Linked DNA regions of Homo sapiens: region 1 is linked to region 2. Evidence: promoter capture Hi-C in 16 types of primary human blood cells and fetal thymus (Javierre and others, 2016). All regions are on one chromosome and are shown on one strand. The core of a region is centred on a gene start or on the middle of the fragment in contact, and the rest is flanking DNA. Distances in the headings are between cores, read along the strand shown. Region 1 has its middle 64 kb from the start of CRLF2. Region 2 holds the start of PPP2R3B (protein phosphatase 2 regulatory subunit B''beta).

Region 1 (2,815 bases), core at 72-2,571, 760 kb before region 2:
CCGCCACCACACCCAGCTAATTTTTGTATTTTTAGTAGAGATGGGGTTTCACCATGTTGGTCAGGCTGGTATCGAACTCCTGACCTCAGGTGATCCGCCCGCCTCGGCCTCCCAAAGTGCTGGGATGACAGGCGTGAGCCACCGTGCCCGGCCTATGCATCCATTTTTCTATGTATCTATTTATCTATCTGTTTGTTATCTACTATCTCTCTATCTATATTGATACTGACTCCCAACTGCAGATAATTCTGCTCTAAGGTGCCATCGGGCAGTATTTACGGTCATTTTTCATTTTTTGTTGCCCTCACTGGGGAGTGGGTGGTTTTGGAACCTGGTGGGTGCAGCCCAGGGACACTGCTCAACACCCTCCAGTGCCCAGGATGGCCCCACAGCAAAGAATCTTCCAGCCGCAAATGTCAGCAGTGCTGAGGCCAAGAGCCCCTCTCCAGCTTAGTTTGATCTGAGTACATCTCAGCAACTAGCAATCCTGTCTCCGGGTGAAGTTTCTCTCTGTGTGTAAAGGTAGCTTTGCACCCAGTCTTTAAAGAAGTTTGCTTTAGAACTGAATCTACTACTACAAAAAGAATTATTATTATTATTTTTTGGCTCTTCACCACTGTCATTTAAAAGAATGTTCTGGGCTGGGCATGGTGGCTCACAGCTGTCATCCCAGCACATTGGGAGGCCAAGGTGGGTGGATCACTTGAGGTCGGGAGTTCAAGACCAGCCTGGCCAACATGGCAAAACCTTGTCTCTACTAAAAATACAAAAATTAGCTGGTCATGGTGGCAGGTGCCTGTGACCCCAGCTACTCAGGAGGCTGAGGCAGAACAATCACTTGAACCCGGGAGGTGGAGATTGCAGAGAGTCAAGATTGCGCCACTGCACTCCAGCCTGCGGGACAGAGTGAGACTACATATCAAAATAAGTGAGCAAGTAAATAAATAGATAAAATATGGCCGTGCGCAGTGGCTCACACCCATAATCCCAGCACTTTGGGAGGCCGAGGCGGGCGGATCACCTGAGGTCAGGAGTTCAAGACCAGCCTGGCCAACATGGCAAAACCCCGTCTCTACTAAAAATACAAAAATTAGCCGGGCATGGTGGTGGCAGGTGCCTGTAATCGCAGCTACTCGGGAGGCTGAGGCAGGAGAATCGCTTGAACCCGGGAGGCGGAGCTTGCAGTGAGTCGAGATCGCGCCACTGCACTCCAGCCTGGGCGACAGGAGTGAAACTCCGTCTCAGTAAATAAGTAAATAATAAATAATTAAATAAATAAATAAGCTGCAATAAAATAATAAACTAAAAGCACTTTCTGCCCGGCACCACTGCACTGCAGCCTGGACAACAGAGTGAAACTCCGTCTCAAAAAAATATATATATATATAAAAAAAAATAAGTAAATAAATAAAATAAAATAATAAAAATAAAATAAAAGCACGTTCTGCTTCACACCACTATACTCCAGCCTGGACAACAGAGTGAAACTCCATCTCAGATAAATAAATAAATATATAAAATAAATAAATTAATTAAATAAATAAATAAAATACAATAAAATAATAAAAATAAACTAAAAGCACATTCTGCCCGGCACCACTGCACTCCAGCCTGGACAACAGAGCTAAGCTCCATCTCAGAAAAATAAATAAATGTGTAAAATAAATAAATACAATAAATGAAATAAAATAATAAAAATAAACTAAAAGCACGTTCTGCCCCGCCCCGGCTGCCCCACTGGTCATGTGGGCTTCAGAAACCGTCCCCCTGCAGAAGCATCTTCTGTGTCTTTCCGCCCCCATGAAGCCAGTTGCTCAGAAACGCAGCCGCCGCTGCCCACAGGAGGGAGGGAAGAGGAGGAACGGGCTCGACATGAAAGAGAAGGCCCGTTGGGAAAGGCTGTTTTTGCAGCACTGGTGAAGATAAGCCCCTGGTGTTTGAGTTCCGCTGTGAGAAAGCTGACCGGGCTTTGGAACGTGGGAGGAAGTGTGGTGGCAGGTACGCAAACGCTTCACATTGAAGTTCAAGAAGGGAATCTAGACAAAGAAGCCAGGAGGGCCAGTGTGGACGTTGCTGGGCCCCAGGAAACCAGGAGGCGGTTAGCGTCCACCCAGGAATAATAAAAAAGCAGGATCACGTTGCCTCGTAGACCGTGAGGATGAAGGCAGAGACTCGCAGGCCCCAGAGAGCTGGTGAATGGCGTTGTTCAGAGGTGATCCCCCCGGTGAATTCTCTCCTGAAAGCACTGAACAGACGTGAAGTGAGACAGAGGAATGGCATTGAAGGGGCGTACGTAAGAGGAAGAGAAATGCGGAGTCGGGGCAGGTGCAGCCTGCAGTCTTGGGAGACGGGCAGATTTTGCCTCAGCCACGCTCACAAGAAAGGGAAGTCAGGGGAGGATGGAATGGATCCTGGGACAGAGTGAATGGTGGAGGGATAAATAATGTCACTCCCAAAGATGTCCACGTCCTGATCCCCATGTGATAGACAGAATAATGGCCCCAAAGATGTCCACGTCCTGATCCCCATGTGGGAGACAGAATAATGGCCCCAAAGATGTCCACGTCCTAATCCCCATGTGATAGACAGAATAATGGCCCCAAAGATGTCCACGTCCTAATCCCCATGTGGGAGACAGAATAATGGCCCCAAAGATGTCCACGTCCTAATCCCCATGTGATAGACAGAATAATGTCCCCAAAGATGTCCACGTCCTAATCCCCATGTGATAGACAGAATAATGTCCCCAAAGATGTCCACGTCCTAATCCCCATGTGGGAGACAGAATAATGGCCCCAAAGATGTCCACGTCCTA
Region 2 (2,700 bases), core at 92-2,591:
ACTCAAAAAAAAAATAAAACTAAAAAAAGAGTTATTTTTTTTTTTTTTGAGACAAAGTCTGGCTCTGTCGCCCAGGCTGGAGTGCAATGGTGTGATCTCAGCTCACTGCAACCTCCACCTCCTGGGTTCAAGCAATTCTCCCGCCACAGCCTCCCGAGTAGCTGGGACTACAGGCACACGCTACTATGCCCGGCTAATTTTTCTATTTTTAGTAGAGATGGTGGGGGCGGTTTCACTATGCTGGCCAGGCTGGTCTCGAACTCCTGACTTCGTGATCTGCCCGCTTCAGCCTCCCAAAGTGCCGGGATTACAGACTTGAGCCACCGCGCCCGGCCAAGGGTTACTTATTGAGTCTGGCTCGATTTATGCAGCTCAGAAGTAGGAGAACCTGGCTCATAAAAGACCTTGAAATTACTCTCTAACAGGGTGCAACACCAGGTGAAACCCTATTTTGATAAAAAATGAATAAAAAGCGGGGCAAGATGTAAAGGAAACAGGTGCATGTGTGCCAGACAGATGATAATGCAGTGTTTTTATGGATACTGTTAAAAGCAGAAACAAAAACGACCATTGGGTAAAGTTATTTAACTAATGTCACCTCCCTGGACGTGGATGATTTTTGCAATTTTCAACGCACTTCACGCTCATCCCTGAACACCAACGTTTAAAGGGGTCCAACTCCTCCAACCTGTCTCTACTGTTTGATAAGCAAAGCTAAAGTAAACGGGGCCCTTTGGGTCCCAGGTAGCCCGCTGTTATTGAAAAGTTTGATCTTTTCCTCGCGCGCTCCCGTAGGACGCACGCTCGCTCCCGAGCTCGGCGGGCGCGCACCCCGCATGCTCGCTCGTTCCCGGTGCCTCCCACTGCGCAGGCGCACTCCCGTCCTCCAGCCCCACCCGCTCACACACCTCCCAGCCTCTGGCTTGCGCCCCGCGGGCAGCCATTGCGCACGCTCACCCGACCGGCCTCCCGAACTCCGCTCCTCCACCGCTATGCACGGCGCATGCTCCATGCGGAGGTTCCACCCTCTCCTCGCTCTGGCAGGCACGCATTGCGCATGCTCGCATTTCCGCAGCTCTAGGACTGCCACGCCGCCATGGGCCGCGCCTCTAAAAATCCTAAACGCAGAAAGAGCTCGGGCGGTACGGCCGCCACAGCCCCTCCCTCGTCCTCACCGCAGCCGCTCGGCCCCACCAAAGCCTCCTGCAAAAGCTCCGAGGGCCGCGGGGCGCGCGTGGCTAGCGGCGGCGTCGCCTCGTGATGACATCGTCGCGATGACGCGACGCAGTGACGTGAACGCGGGCGCCCTTGTTTGGGAGCGCGGCCGGCGCGCCCGTTTTGAAGCTGCCCTGAGCAGCGCGGGCCGGACCGCGCCCCCTCCTCGGTCCCCGCGCCCCGCGAGTCCGCGCAGTTCCCGAGGCGCGGGCCCTGTTCCCTGCGCCGCGCCCCCTCAGCGGGCCGTGCTCGCATCACCGAGGTCGGTCCGGGGCGGACCGAAGCCCCCGGGGCGGGGCGGGGCGCGGGCGTCCGGGGGCGCCGCGGGCCCAGCCCCCGCCATGCCGCCCGGCAAAGTGCTGCAGCCGGTCCTGAAGATGAAGGTGGACGAGCTGTTCCTGTACTGGCTCAGCGAGGCCAGCACGCAGCGGATGCTGCAGGACTGCCTGCGCCGGATCAAGGCGCCCGGGCGGGACCAGCCGACCCCGGGGGACGGGGAGCAGCCCGGGGCCTGGCCCACAGCCCCGCTCGCCGCCCCCCGGCCCAGCGGGCTCGAACCCCCGGGAACCCCCGGGCCGGGCCCTGCGCTGCCCCTGGGCGCCGCCTCCAGCCCCAGGAACGCGCCCCACGTTCGAGGCACCCGTAGATCCGCAGGGACGAGAGTAGTAAGTTACTCTTCCTTCTGCTAACAACTGCGCAGGTGGCTCTGGTCGCATAGTGGGCGTGTGGCTGCGCGATGGAGGCTGGTGGGCGAGCGTCAGACCCCAAAACGGTTTCATATTGAGTCTGTTCCCCGCCCCGACCCCCCCCACCACACACATACAGACAAGAAAGTCCCACGTACTGAACATTCCGTCATTGACAGTTGTTAACCTAAAAATCACACAATTTATAAAGGTAGAAAGGCTTCCTATTTTATTTTATTTTATTATTTTAATTTGTTTTAATTTTGAGACAGAGTTTTGCTCTGTTGCCCAGGCTGGAGTACGATGGCGCGATCTTGGCTCACTGCAACCTCTGCCTCCCAGGTTCAAGCGATTCTCCTGCCTCAGGCTCCCGAGGAGCTGGGACTTACAGGCACGTGCCACCACGCCTGGCTGATGTTGTATTTTTAGTAGAGACTGGGTTTCCCCCATGTGGGCCAGGCTGGTCTCGAACTCCTGACCTCAAGTGATCCTCCCGCCTTGGCCTCCCAAAGTGCTGGGATTTCAGACGTGAGTCACTGCGCCTGGTCCGTTTTTTATTTATTTTACAATTCTTTGGAGACAGGGTCTTGCTCTGTCTCCTAGGCTGGAGTGCAGTGGCGCAAACACAGTTGGACTTCCTGCCTCAGCCTCCCCAGTAGCTGGGATTACAGGCGTGCACCATCACGCCAGGCTAATTTTTGTTTATTTATTTATTTATTTATTTTTGCAGAGACGAGGTCTTGCTATGTTACCTAGAGTGCTCTGGAATTCCTGGGTCCAAGCAATCCTCCCGCTTCGG

The links. The method cuts DNA at HindIII sites, captures the fragments that hold promoters and counts their contacts. A CHiCAGO score of 5 or more calls a contact.
Region 1: a contact is called between a fragment that was not itself captured here and the fragment with the promoter of PPP2R3B in region 2, in 3 of 17 cell types (M0 macrophages, M1 macrophages and erythroblasts). The highest score is 8.8, in M0 macrophages.

Annotation. Positions count from the first base shown.
Region 1 is chrX:1,147,057-1,149,871 of GRCh38, reverse strand. No RefSeq gene overlaps it. Among named protein-coding and RNA genes, the nearest start is that of CRLF2, 64 kb to the left of the region's middle. The HindIII fragment of the contact is 6,803 bases long and covers 1-2,815 here.
Region 2 is chrX:385,548-388,247 of GRCh38, reverse strand. It overlaps PPP2R3B (protein phosphatase 2 regulatory subunit B''beta), which reads left to right and starts at 1,341. Exons shown (of 13, transcript NM_013239.5): 1 at 1,341-1,880. The coding sequence starts at 1,557. The HindIII fragment of the contact is 20,425 bases long and covers 1-2,700 here.